Regions from separate parts of the Homo sapiens genome. Here all the other regions are linked to region 1. Evidence: promoter capture Hi-C in 16 types of primary human blood cells and fetal thymus (Javierre and others, 2016). All regions are on one chromosome and are shown on one strand. Each heading gives the region's core, a stretch centred on a gene start or on the middle of the fragment in contact. The rest is flanking DNA. Distances are from core to core; before and after follow the strand shown.

Region 1 (2,844 bases), core at 297-2,796:
GCTATTCAATTTCATCCTTAGACTTGTGTATAGTTATTATAATGATTTTCTGGCAGATGGCAGTAAAATGTCCTGAGGAGGGAGCACCATTTCCTAATTCACCCAGAGATAACTTATGGGTAGGATTAATCTCCCGTAGACCCCTCTGAGACTCCTTTAATAATAATTTAATTTTTAAGTGATTCTACTACTATAAACATGTACACACATACACATACTGTGACACAGAACAATGCAAATACAGTTTCAGGAGATTCAGGAATTTTGAAGACCACCCATGTTAAAAGCCCAGTTCTAAGTGGTCTCAGAATCTCTAGAAGGTGTTTCCCATTCCCATCCTCCCCACTCTCATCCCCAATCTATCTAGAACATAATTAACAAAGGTGATTTAGCTCCAGAGCCTAGGAACACACTGCTGCAATTTCTGATATGAGCAGAACCCTCCCCTTCTTAAGTTTTTAAATATTTTTGTGTTGGTACTGAATTTATTTGGTTGTATTGCTTCCCCCGGAGTGCCTACTTTTCATTGAAAGTGGAAATCTCTGCAGTATTTTATTTTGTCCATGGAAGTTCACAAGCTTGGTCTTTGATGCTTCCAGGACTCATTAAAACACCTCACTTCTACATGTCTGAACTATAGCCCATGGACCTGGTAAGAGAGAAGCCCAAAGAAATTGGAAAATAAATCACCACACTGACTTTCCAAATTAAAATATATTATATTTTGGATGTTTCATACCTGTCTATATGGTTTTGTCATTGGCAAAAAAATAGCAAGTCTAAGGCAGTTTTAACGTTACATTAAACAATGTGTCCATAGTGAAATGTGATTAGTACATATTTCAGCAGCCCAAATTGCTGGGATAGGAGAAAGAAAGCACTGATCGTGGACCTATTTCGAAGAATGCACTAATGACTTTTCAAAATAATAGTATTTTCACGGGATGTGAGATGTCCAAAATTCTGATGCTGAAATATCAACATAGGATCAGAACTTATTTTAGTCTCCTATGCCACATTGAAACTTAATTTCGAGTGGAAAGGAAAGGTTTTCCCTGTTACAATTAAGATGTTTCTGATCATAAAATGAAGCTTACATTGTCACACTAGATTTCTTGATCCAACGCAGTACCCTCCCCGCCAATCCATCCAGAGTCCTCATTCCTAAATGCAATGCTTAAAAGGACATGCCACTATGCCAAACCCAAAGACTCTCATTTGACAGAAAAGGAAATGAATCTCTGTTACCTTTCTATCCCCTTCCTTTTGAATGAGCCATTTTTCTTCTTGAGTTGCTGGAATCTTCGGCACTGTCCAACTTTTCTGTAGGCAATCTTAAAGGGTTCTGGTAGATACAGCTGAGGTTGGGCCATTGCTCTCAACTTCACCTGTAGTAGCCGTTTTGGATTGTTTTAGTTCTTGAACTTACAGACTTCAATACAAAATCATCCAGTGACTGAATGTACTGTCAAGGTGTGGGCTATTCGGAATAAAATATGTAGGAAATTTTTAGAGTCTTTCCCTTATTCCCTTCCAGGTGTTAGAGACATTATTTGTGGGACTGGCCCTGTTTACAACTTCACAGAGGTCACCAGTGATGTATTTGACAGAGCTGTGTGAAATTCCATGGACCTTTGTGGAACACTTCACAGATTCTTGAACAAGGCAAATACAGAAATGATGATCTGATTGCCTCAATGCTGGCATTTGGATAGAAAAAAAAAATCAAACAACAACAACAACAACAAAAAACACCCACACACTAATTGACCACCACATTCAGAAGTGCGTATTTGAACTCTGAAGTGGTAGGGACCTATAGGAATACCAACGATACGCTGATTAACACAAGTTGAGCTTCTGTTAGATCTCTCAGTTACAGCTGGTGAATGTTCTCTGTGTCCTGTGGGACACATATGACAAGGCCAGTTGTTGTTTGGACATCTCAAAATGTACCCCAAGGGTGGTTTTCATTACATCTTGGAATTTTGCAGTGGTCTCTCAAAGTACATTGCTAAATTGAGGACCTGATCCACCCCTCCCTTCCAACATTGCCCCATTTATTTCGTGGTGAAGAGCGAATTCTGCCTGTGATGGAACTTCTCACCACAAGGTGGCAGCAGACACTAGGATTTATTCCTGTTACCCTCTCGCGGTTTGAGTTGTTCAGTCAAATAACTAGATGCTTAACAAGAAAAACTCCTCTAGAAAGGTTCTGGGAGTTACAAGAATTACTCTGCTTTCTGTGTTTGCATTAATCAATAATCTGGAGCATACTTCTCAAGCTTTCAAGTGCACACAAACTTCCTGGAGGTCTTTTTAAGATGCAGATTTCGATACAGTACATCTGGGCTGGGATCCAAGAATTTGCACTCCTAACAAACCCGCAGGTGACGCTGATGATGCCAGACTGCACTTGGAGTAGTGAGGGTCTTGTATGTTTCAGTACTGGGGAAAAGAGCTTTAAAATGGTCTAGAATGAAGTGTATAATGTTAAGGGGCTAAGAGAGTGGATTTGGGAATTATGCATGAGTTCTCATTTCTAGCTTAGCTATGTGACCTTGGCCAATTCATTTTAACCCACCCATGCTTGTTTTCTCATCCCTAAAGTGGGACAACTCATAGTGCCCAAGCCATAGTTTTATGGCAAAATTCAAGTGAAATAGAAATTCCGCTTCAGCAGGGAATGAGACCCAGGAATCCATATTCTAGGAGAGTGGGTGCAGATGTTCCTCTGTCCCTTATTTGAGAAACGCTGAAGTAGAGCATATCTAATATGCCTTGGCCAAATGGACATATGCTCCTCCCTGGTCTGTTTTTCCTCATCTGTTGGCATCCTCAGAG
Region 2 (2,951 bases), core at 327-2,826, 490 kb after region 1:
TGAAGGGGACTCTTTCAATTGCCTCAGGATGCAGGTGTAAAAATAGTCTTAAGACGTATGGCCAACATTACTAGTCATCAGAGAGCATAGTCCTCTCCTCAAGAAATGTATTACATTACATTTTGAGATTTTCTCTAATTCAGGGAAATTAACTGGATTAGGAACAAACTCATTCCATTTTCTCCAATTTTAATTGCTGTGTTGTGATGTCTTGGGTGAGGGTTTGCATTGCAGGTTGGTTAAAGGACTAGATTTAGATTCCGGGTTCAAATCCTGGCTCAACCACTAAACAGCTGTGCCACTTTGGGGTAGTTACCTCTCTGTGTCTCAGTTTTCCCACCCGTAAAATAGGGCTAAGAAGAGTAGCTACCCCATTAAATTGCTGTGATAATTAAACTATAATGTAGGTTAAGTGACCAGCTTTGTGACTGATACATAATAAACTCTCATAATAAAATAATGTATTAAACATAAATATTATTTTTAATATTTAAACAATGCCATGTTGTCACTTGAGAGGCAGTTTGCTGAATAGTCAAATTCTTTCATTTGTTTACGTGGAGAGAAAGTGTGTTTTTCTTGGCTCGTTGATAATAGTTATTACTTTTATACCACCTAAGAACTAGGAGACTGCTCCTATTTTTAGAACTGTGATAGCTGAGATAACTCTCAGGCTAGATTTGACTTATAGATTGTATTCAAATAATTCAAATAAACATATTGTGCGATGACTAGTGTACAGCTTTTTCAATAACTGCTGGAGATGTGGCGGTCAATTTGAGAAAACAGGTCCTGACCTCTCATGGACATTATAATCAATAAAAGGTAGAAGAAAATAAAGCCACCACTGTAATACTCGTGTTTAAACAGAAGCCACCAATAAATGTGGCAAGTTTATTTAGCCATAGTAGATTCAAGTACCAGCTCTGGGGAATTCAGAGCTGTGGCCCCCAGGTTCCTCTGAGGTCACATCAACTCTCCAATTGGATGTTTATTTTTCAGGTCCACAGTGTCCAGGCATCCACAGCTCTCCTGCTAAGCCCCAGAGCACTGCATTCTTCCCAGGGCTGCTGGCTACTATTCTTAGTCACCAGCAATTTTGCTTTTATGTTCATTGCCTTGTGCATTTACAAAACACATGATTGTGAGTCAAAGCCAGGGAGACAGGCATGTTAGGGGAACTGGGGCCTGGAGCACTCAACCCAGTGATTAAACTCCTAGATCACACTGGTACATTATGAATTCCTTCTTTTAAATATAGACCAGTCTCATTTGATATGAAATGGACTGACTCAGGCTAGCAATGCTAAACAGGTCACCTAATTGTGGGGAAATGTGCAGCCTGAATACAAGATTCTGGACATTCCCAGAAAGGGAGATGAGGCTCTGAGCTTTTGCAACCTGAGGATAAAGGGAAACCTGAGAAGGCACTCTCATTTTGTGAATATCACAGTTTTTCTGAGAGTGTGTTGAATTTTTTTTAATGGCTTAGTACTGAGCATCTTGAATTATATAACTGGTCTTGTGGTAGATGTGAGATTTGTAGAATTTCTTAAAAGTCATGTTAAAACCTAATCATGGGGACACTAAAATGTATTTTAAATTCAGCATATGTGGCATTCCTCATTTAAATAATATTTTGCAATTTATGCCCAATTAATTTGCTAACAATATTTACTTTGTCCTGCTTTTTCCATCTGTGCCTCTCCTGATCCTTTTCACACATTGCCTTTTTTAAGGTGAATTTCTTGATATATTACATACATGCAGAAAAGTGTAAAACAGCTCAATGAATTTTCAGAGGGTGAACACACCTATTACTCAATCCCTAGATCAAGAAATAATATATTATTGGAACCCCAGAAGCCCCTTCCTTAACCTCTAACCACCAAAAGTTAGCTACTGTCCTAACTTCTAATACCACAATGTGTTTTTTAAAAATATTTTTGAACACAAATTGAATTATATATTGTACTGTCTTTTGTATCTAGTTTCTTTTGCTCAGTTTTTTTGGGTGAAATTCATTCATGTTGTGTAAACTCATAGTTTGTCCATTCTCATCACTGTAAGTCAAATGCATAAATATACCAAAATGTATTTGTTCATCATGCTACTGATAAGCATTTGTGGCTTTATAAATTCTGTTATGAACACACTTATTTGTGTCTTTTGGGAAACATACCTAAGAATGGAATTGTTTGGACATAATACATTTATAATACATATAGCTAGATATAAACACACATACACAATACATAAATAGGTATTACATGTACCACATATACATGATAACATATATGTACATTTCATTTCAACATATACATATACCCACTTTAGTAGGTACTGCTGAGGTTATCCAAAGTTATATCAATTTACACTCCTACCAACAGTGTAAAAAAGTTCTAGTTGTTCTATATCCTTGCTGTCACTTGGTATTGTCCTTTTCATTTGGGTTATTTTGGTGGGATCACATTTTCTTTTATAATGTATATATTTATCTCCATTCTACTTTACACTTCCTTCATTGCCAATAACTATTTCCCCTCCCAATTTGCACTAATGATTGCAACTTTTACATAGTTAGTAATTAATATATATCTAGTCACTAACAAAATGAAACAGGAAATCTAAAAGTAAAGTGTCAGTGGTTCATTTTTTTTTTTCTATGAGGAAAGTAGTCTTTTAATGGATTGAGAAAGTATTATTATTGGCTTTGGTAAAATTTAGGAACATGGAAATGAATCTGATGGCCATTGAAATTAAGAACATTTCCAAATTACACTTCTTAAAATTTGCCCAATGTAAACTTAATTAGAAAGAGTACAAGCACAACCCTTCAATTACTTCCATGAGTTACTAAGTCTGATTCTTACCAGGAACTTGGCTTTCTTTTGAAGATTTCAAAGTTACCAGCAATCACAACTCCCTTTCTTGGTGCTGCTATTTAACAG
Region 3 (2,700 bases), core at 170-2,669, 450 kb after region 1:
ACTGAGTTAGTCTGGAGAGCAAGTCTTCAAGCTCTGAGATTGTTTCCTCAGCTTGGTGTATTTTGCTGTTAATACTTGTGATTGCATTATGAAATTTTTGTGGTGTGTTTTTCAGCTGTATCAGATCAGTTTGGTTCTTTCTTATGATGGCTGTTTTGTCTATCAGCTTTTATATCATTTTATTGTAATCCTTAGATTCCTTGAATTAAGTTTTAACTTTCTTCTGAATATCAATAATCTTTATTCCTATCCATATTCTGCATTCTATTTCTGTCATTTCAGCCATTTCAGCCTGGCTAAGTACCCTTGCTGGGGAACTAGTGTGGTCTTTTGGGATTAGAAGACACTCTGGCTTTTTGAGCTGCCAGAGTTATTGCACTGATTCTTTCTCATCTATGGTGGGATGATTTCCTTTAACTATGGTGTAATTTGAGTAGCCAGTAGACTTCTTTTCTGGATGTTTTTAGAGGGCTGGGGGTTTTTGCAGGGGGTTTGTAGCTGAGTTCTCACCCTTGGTTTCACAAGGGAGTACATTATCAAAGGATTTTTGGTGTTGAAGTTTGGGCTGTGATCCAGTAGATAAGCTAAATGGCCAGTTGGTAGGCTCTTGTTCAGCCACATGGCTCCTCTATATTTCCTCATGAATGCAGCTGTACTCTTTCTCAGTGCTCTGAGAGTGTGGGCTCCTCTCCCACTCAAGTGCTAGCTGCAGATCTTTACTTGACTCTTCTGGGCTGCACTTTGCAGCCCTGGGGCGAGCTCAGGCTTTATGTTTTCACCCCAGCTTGGAGGCAGCAGGGGAAGGGATCTTGGCAGTGGTTGTGGCAGAGGACTTTTCACCTATCTCATGGGGCTCTATCCCAGAGAGATTCAGAGCTGCTATTAATCAGTGTGATCAGCCTGGGGTGGAACTGCTGTGCTGTGGGCCCAACCCAGGGGCAGCTGTGCCTTGTGACCAGTGAGGGTTGTGGGGGAAAGGGGGATGGGGGAAACAGACTGGCCTCTCTCCTTAGGACAACTGCAGCTTGCTGGAGTCATGGTTAAAGCACCCAGTGTCTTTGCTACTTCCCCAATCCAGGGGCAGCAAAGGCAGTATCGCTGCAGTGGCAGTGGCAGAGGGGCTTTCAGTTGCCTCTGGGAGCTCCCTCTCAGAGATACACAGAGCCATTGCTACTGGAAATGTTCAGCCAGGGATGGGGTGGCTGTGCTGCTGGCTCAAGCTGGGGCCTTCACTTGGTGAGAAGCAGGGGGTGGAAGGCTCACAGGGAGGAGTGACTGGACTCTTGTCTATGGTGACTGTGTCATGCTGGACATAGTCTTTGTTTTTATGTGTTTTTGTTTTTTCTCAGACTGAGGGCAGCAGTGGCAGAACCACTGTCGTGGCAGTGGCAGAGGGGCTGTTGGTCACTCTAAGATCCCTTTTCCAGGGAAACATAGAGCCTCTACCTGTGGATATACTCAGCCATGCATGGGATGGCTGTTCTGTGGTCCCAAGCCGGGGGCTCAGTCTGGTGAAGAGTGGGGATTGAGGGCTTGCAGGGAAGAGAGACTGGGCTCCTCTCTGCATGGTGGCTGTTGTGTGTGGGAAATGCCAGCATAGCAACCAGGTCCTTTGTTCCTTCCCCATCCTGAGGGTGGTTAGGGTGGTACTACTGCAGTTCCAGTGGCAGACGGGCTGTGGGTTGTCTCTGTGATTTCCTCCTCAGTGAAATGTAGAACCGCCTCCGACTAAAGTGTTGAGGTGGGGCCAGAGTGGTTGTGCTAGAGTCCGAGGTCCAGGGTCCCACTCAGTGAGGAGAAGTTGGAACGAGGACTCAGGTGGAAAAGAGTCTGGCCACTTCTCTGTGGGGCAGCTGTGCTGCACTGGGGAGCTGTATCAGTCTCAAATCACCACGCACCTTCTAGAACCTGAGGGCAGCAGCAATTAGGGCTGCAGGGCAGCAAAAATAGTGGCTTGCATCTCCCTCTGGGAGCTCCGTCCCAGGGAAGTCAGAGCTGCTACTGGTCTGAAAGCCCAGGCAGTAGGTGGCTGGAGTCCCAGGCCAGTGGGCCTTATCCTGCAAGGTGAAACCTGAAGTTCATCACTGCTCAGCCTCATGAAATTTGCCTCTTTCCCGGAGACGTGCAAGGGAGCCTGACCTCCCCCACTGCCAGAGCTGCAGTGGCTAATGCCAGGATGCCTGGGGATCCAAGGCTCCTAGGACTCCATGTGTGCATGAGTGACTTCTCTTACCAGACTCCACAGAGCTCTCGGTGTCAGTCTGGAGGCCCCTGTGGGGTGGGCTCACAGGGGGATCTCCTGAGCCCAGGGTTGCAAAAGTCCATGGTAGAAGTGTGGGTTCCTGGGGACTGTCACTCACTCATCATTTTTCCGAGGTATGGGGGCCTCCTCTGGCTCTATGCCATCCCAGGTGGGTGGTTGTCTTGTCTCATTCCTCTCTTTCATTCGTGGGTTGTTTCCTTGATGAATCGCAATGTGTCCACCTGAATGTTCCAGTTAAAGGTCTAGGGTTTACTCACCACTGTTTCTTCTGTCCGTGAGAGCAGTGCACGCTAGCTCCTTCTAGTCAGCCATCTTGGCTCTCCCCCATATTTAAATTCTAATTCAACAATAGGGATTAGAGGATATTTTCTGGGTTTATGAATCCACTGTGTTTATATAGGGGTCTTTCTCTAACTCAGTACTCTAAATTTTTACAA
Region 4 (2,740 bases), core at 186-2,685, 420 kb after region 1:
GGATCTTGTCTGAAAAACATTTTTTATGATTTTCCTTCATATATACTACATAATTCATGTGAGACTATTATCATTGTTGTAGTTCTTTGTTAAGAAATCTATTTCACTATAATTCTATTCACTGTAATTTCCTTAGTAACAGGCTGCTCTCTTCTTTTAAAAACTGTTAAAACATCATTCACATCACATTCTAGATGTGGATCCAGCTATTCCCAATAGCTATTCAAAAAACGTAATCACCATAATTATTGTTGACATCTAATTAACATTCAGCTTCCTTTCTACAGCATCTACAGCTGGACAAACCATCTATTCCAGGATAAAAACGAATGCTCTGTTGCCTTCTCTTAAAAACATAAAACAAATCAGGATCCTAACACCTGGGCTCAGTGTTTTTGTTCTCTAGTAAATGGTGGTTGGAGGTAGGGCAGCTAACATGAACACCTTTCTAAATATTATCAACTGATAAATTGAACCCAGTCATATGAAATTAAATCCACCCTACATGTGATAGGAATGCTGATGTTTACATCCAAGGTAGGTGTTGTGGTCGATCAAGGATGGCTCCCAGAGCCTCTCAGTGCACAGTTTTTTGATGAGGCTTCCCTTGATCCAGCTCCTTTCTCTCTGGCTTACTTCATCATTTGCTACCCTCTTCCTTGTTCTCTCTTAGGTTACATCCTGGTCTCCTTCCAGCTCCCCCATCATGTTCTCTCTCACCTCTGTGGCTTTGACTATGCTACACCTCTGTCTTCTTTCACTATTGTGATGGTTGAGGGGTGTAGGCCCTGAGGCTAGAACCTCCAATTTCGTGTTTCAGCTCTCCATACTGCAAGTATGACCTAGAGCACATTAGCTTAGCTTCTGGGTTCCTGTGCTGTCTCATCTGTTAAATGAGGATGGTATCCAATAAATGTACCCACTTTGTGGGGTTATTGTGAGGATTAAATATGCCTCTGTCTCATCCTCTCTCTCTATGTGTGTGTGTGTGTGTGTGTGTGTGTGTATGTGTATACATACGTATGAGAATGTGTGTGTGTGTGTATATATATGTATGTACATATATATATATTTATATAAAAGCAGTAACACAGTAATGCAGTAACACAGCACTCAACCAAGGCTTCGTGGACTCTATTATTTAATGTTCTTTTCAAATCCATTTATGCAATATTTAGGCAATTCATTTAGGCAAACTCATAGTCCAGACTAGGAACTGATAACACTTTTACTTCTACCTCTTTCAATCAGCCAGAGCATGTTATATGGTTGAATACAAAGACAAGATGCAAGAAAATACGCTTTAGTGGGAGGAACTACAGAATTAATGGCAGAATGTGGATATATAATTATGTTACTCGGGAAGAAGTAAACTATTGACACAATAATATATATAAACATTCTCTCTGTTAATGTTTACTGTATGGTCTCTTCTCCTGTCCAGAGCCCCTTGGTCTCATATTTGAGATCGTTATCTCTAGAAAGGCTTCCTTAGTGTTCCAGGACATTTTCTCTAGAGAATCTTCATGTTTCAGAAAAGTTTAGTTCTCCATCCTGTGTGCCCCCACAGCACCTGGTACTTCCACACTTGCATCACCATCACACTTGCAATGACTATGTCAAGTGCGCTATGCTTTATTTATTTGTGCAACAAATATTCCTCCAGCTGCCACTCTGTACCAGGAACTGGGGATATAGCAGTAAACGAAAAGAGTTCCAGGCAGAGGGAACAGCTAAAGCAAAGGTTTGCAAGATGGGCCTGGATTAGGCCTCTGGATTCACCTCTTTTCCTCTCCTTCAGTGAATGGCCACAAAGCACACTCCCACTGCTTCCTTCATCTTGGAGTCATCCTAGCTATGCCCACTGTCACAAATAGGCTGGCCTTTTTTCCTCTTAAGTTTTTGTCATACAGAGGGGTCAATCCCGATGAAATAGCAAAAGGACAGTGTTTCCAGAATCCTTTATGGTTCTTGTCATCACAGACCCTGGATTATAAAATACTAACTTGCTTTTGGGATAAGAACTAGAATTCATATTGAATTTCTATCCTCTGATTTTTATCATTTAGAGCAGTGGTTCTCAACTGGGGGAGATTCTGCCTCTCCCCGTTCTACCCTTAGCCCCAGGCCCCAGGGACATCTGACAAAGCCTGGAGACATTTCTGATGGTCACCACTTTGCAGGGAGCGCTCCTCATGTTTAGAGGCCCGGGATGCTGCTAAACATCCCAGAGTGCACAGAACAGCCCCATAATGAAGAATTATCCAGCCCAAAATGTCAATAATGGCTGATCTAGAAAGTGTCTTCTTCAAACCTCTCCTTCCTCCTTCTGGCTGCAGGGCCTCCTTCCTCTGCAACATTGCTCTTCATTTATGAGCATGTAGGCTTGAGTATATGAAATTAAGGATGAACAGCAGGGGCCTATTTGTCTTGAGAGAGAAATGCATCTCTCTTAGGATCAGCAAACTGGAGAAGACTTTGTTCTCTAGGTGTCTCTCTGGCAGAAGACATTGCTTTCTTTATCTCCTACTGGCCTCATGTTTCTCAACTTTCAGAGATACTGAGCCCAGGGATGACAAATTGGGTTCATCCTGCACTACCACTTCATTAGATTGGTAGCAGCTGTTTGGAGCACAATTTTGATTCCCACAAGGATTCCCAAGGCCACATTCATGCTCTGCAAAAAAGTACAATCAACTAGTGATGTCCATCAAGAATACAGGCACAGTACCAGGTATAT
Region 5 (2,961 bases), core at 136-2,635, 510 kb after region 1:
ATAGCTAATTAAAAACACCCAGAAAGCAAATAGATTATTAACCAAAACAACAACAACAAAAAAAAGCCACCACTTTCTCCTGGCATCTGTTCATTCACTAGTACACATTCAACTTGACATATCTGATTTTTTGAAAAATGTGGGAAGGATACCACATAAATGACATCTATGTGTTTTCTGAGTGGTTTTAAGTTAACAGGACACACTGAGAGTACAGGGAACAGCTCATTAATATCCCCTCTACCACATTGGGATAAGTGTTTTTAAGCCAAGCATCCAAAGCAAGATACTCTTAGGGTCTGAGCATGCACCAGGAGTCTCCTTTCTGATTTCTTTCTGGGAAGCCAGCCCTCCTGACTTTCAAGCCATGTGGTTCATATAGGGCTCCACACCTTGTTCTAGGGCTGGAATTCATATCCAGGTCTCAGCCAGCTAGTGCCCCCACAGTAACCTCAGGATTGGCTCTGTGTTGGACATGAGAGGCCATCAGAGCCACTGGGACAGCATGAATATTTTTCTGAGGCCTTGGAGCAAGGAAAGATATTCTTCCCACTGGCCTTGGATCTGAGAGGACATAGGCTGAGGCTGCCCTAGTCATCTTGACAACATCAGCAAGAATCTATATGAAATAGGAAGCTACACAGGTGAAAGCAGACCTGAAAGACTGAGAAAAAAATGATGAGGTTAAAAGTATGAGATTTCCAATTTTTAAAGATCAAAATTGCCAAATAATTTTAAATACATATGGTTCAACTCAGTCAATTTTAATGACTATGATTTGAACTTCCAACCTAAAGGCGGTTATATCCTTGGACTTCTCAATCATGTAAGCCAATAAATTCCCTCATATGTAGGGAGGTTTGCATCCTTCACTTTTTTAATTGCATAAAAACAATAAGAGTCTACTTTCCTCCTCAAAGCTGTCTTCTGAGAAGAAAACAAAACAAATAAGGAGACCAAAGGTGAGAGAGATGAGAATGACTTTGTCTCAACTATACCAATGGAAAAAAGAAGAGTATACGAGGCAGTTGGGAGGGATTCTGGGGTGGGGAGTTGGAGGCAGGAAGCTTGCAGGGCTTGGTAGGGGGTAGCTCTTCCCTAAACTGAGCTGGGTATGGGGTATCTGCTTGAGAAAATATTTACTCAGCCTGAGGGCTGAAGAGTGGGTACACAGAAGAGGGCTTTAAATACAGTCTGTTGTCATGCAAATACCGTCTCAGACACCCACAAAGCAGGCAGAAGATGGCCACTTTACTTATTTGTGTTATACACACAATGCATATGCATGTCTGGGAAACTAGAACCCCTGTAGTTTGCAGGATAGAACAAAAATGAGGATAAAGTGTGTAGCACAGAGAGAACTCTGGAGTAAGCAGTGTAGAGGGTGCTTCTTGAGTATTCAGCATAGGAGTGGTCAGCACATGCATGTGAGAAGGCTGCCCGTGTCTAGGAGAGGACCACCCAACAGATTAGATGGGGGAATATCTGATGCTCACACAGGGCTGGGGTCACCAGCCAGAATGGAAAACCTGTCACTCACAGGCATTTTGTAGAAGACCCAGAAGGGTCTTGCCTCAGAAGCAGGGAGTAATTAGCACTAGACTAAACACCTCTCTGATCCTACTTAACAAATATTAAAAGTAAGACCTGAACAAATGGAACAATTTCCAAATAATTTAACTAATTCTCAGAATAAAGCTTAATAATATTCATAGAAATTTTTTAACATCCAGAATCAAGCAAGGTAAAAATCAAAGTATCTGGCATCCAATCAAGGATGAGCAAACATGCAAACACACAGGAAAATACAACCCACAATGAGGAGAAGAATCAATTGAAATTGATCCAGAAGCAAAATAGATGTTAACATTAGCAGACAAGGACATGAAAACAGCTGTAAGTGTATTACAGATGTTCAAGAATGTGAGTAGAGACATTTGAAGATAAAAACAACCAACCAACCAAAAACCCAAATTGAACTTCTAGGGGTAAAAACTGTAATTTCTGAAGTTGAAAATAGATTTGGTAGAATTAATAACAGATTAGAAGTGTAGAAGAAAAGATTGGTGAGTTTGAAAACATAGCAAAGGAAACTATCCAAAATGAAACACAGATAGAATAAAGAATTTAAAAAATGAACAGCGCATCAGTGATCTGTGGGACCAATTCAAGAAGCCTAATTATGAGAAACTGAAGTCTATAGAAGGGGAGGGCAAAAAGGAAATTCGGAAAATAATGATCAAAACTTGATGAAAACTATAAAATTTATAATTTAATGAAAATTTATAATTCAATGAAAATTATAAAACTATAATTCTATGGATCAAGGAAGTCTAATGAATTTCCAGGCACAATAAACATGAAGAAAACCATACCAAAGTACATCATAGTTAAATTGTTCAAAGCATATGATGAAGAAGAAAATCTTAAATGCACCCAGGGAGAAAAGACACATTATGTACAGAGGAACAAAGATAAGAATTACAGAAAATTTCTTGTTAGAAGTAGTGCAAGTAACAAGACAGTGGAGCAACATCTTTAAAATACTTAAAGCAAAACCCCTTGCAATCTAGAACTTGATACCCAACAAAAATTTCTTTAGAAAACAAAGATGACATAGACTTTTTCAGACATAATAAGGCTGAAAACATATACCACCAACAGACATACACTACAAAAGATGTTATAGAAAGTCTCAAACAGAAGGCAAATTATTTCAGATGAAATGTGGATCTGTACATAGAAATGAAGAAGATTGGAAATGATAATTAAGTAATTTATTATGTCAATTATATCTCAATCGAGTTGTTAAAAAATAAAATATGTCTAAGTCAATAAAATTTGCTTAAGAGAACATCCATTGAATATCCGCTGTATGTTTGATATTTTGTGTTGATGACGTCACCATTAATTAGATATATTTCTTGTCCTAGAATATCTTATAGACCACCCACAATAAAT

The links. Contacts are between HindIII fragments. The CHiCAGO score rates a contact against its expected background, and 5 or more counts as called.
Region 2: a contact is called between a fragment that was not itself captured here and the fragment with the promoter of C3orf49 in region 1, in 4 of 17 cell types (monocytes, M0 macrophages, M1 macrophages and 1 more). The highest score is 10.3, in monocytes.
Region 3: a fragment that was not itself captured here is called in contact with the fragment with the promoter of C3orf49 in region 1 in 7 of 17 cell types (M0 macrophages, M1 macrophages, M2 macrophages and 4 more); the score reaches 14.8 in M0 macrophages.
Region 4: a contact is called between a fragment that was not itself captured here and the fragment with the promoter of C3orf49 in region 1, in 1 of 17 cell types (M1 macrophages). The highest score is 5.1, in M1 macrophages.
Region 5: a fragment that was not itself captured here is called in contact with the fragment with the promoter of C3orf49 in region 1 in 1 of 17 cell types (M2 macrophages); the score reaches 5.1 in M2 macrophages.

Annotation. Positions count from the first base shown.
Region 1 is chr3:63,818,001-63,820,844 of GRCh38, reverse strand. C3orf49 (chromosome 3 open reading frame 49) reads right to left here and starts at 1,546. Exons shown (of 7, transcript NM_001355236.2): 1 at 1,249-1,546. The coding sequence starts at 1,373. RefSeq lists a silencer at 2,080-2,199. The HindIII fragment of the contact is 1,193 bases long and covers 1,095-2,287 here.
Region 2 is chr3:63,326,715-63,329,665 of GRCh38, reverse strand. The region is part of intron 2 of SYNPR (synaptoporin); the gene reads right to left. Among named protein-coding and RNA genes, the nearest start is that of SYNPR, 50 kb to the right of the region's middle. The HindIII fragment of the contact is 4,441 bases long and covers 1-2,951 here.
Region 3 is chr3:63,370,816-63,373,515 of GRCh38, reverse strand. The region is part of intron 2 of SYNPR (synaptoporin); the gene reads right to left. Among named protein-coding and RNA genes, the nearest start is that of SYNPR, 94 kb to the right of the region's middle. The HindIII fragment of the contact is 3,770 bases long and covers 1-2,700 here.
Region 4 is chr3:63,401,708-63,404,447 of GRCh38, reverse strand. All of the region lies in intron 2 of SYNPR (synaptoporin), which reads right to left. Among named protein-coding and RNA genes, the nearest start is that of SYNPR, 120 kb to the right of the region's middle. The HindIII fragment of the contact is 2,942 bases long and covers 1-2,740 here.
Region 5 is chr3:63,308,202-63,311,162 of GRCh38, reverse strand. All of the region lies in intron 2 of SYNPR (synaptoporin), which reads right to left. Among named protein-coding and RNA genes, the nearest start is that of SYNPR, 31 kb to the right of the region's middle. The HindIII fragment of the contact is 631 bases long and covers 1,070-1,700 here.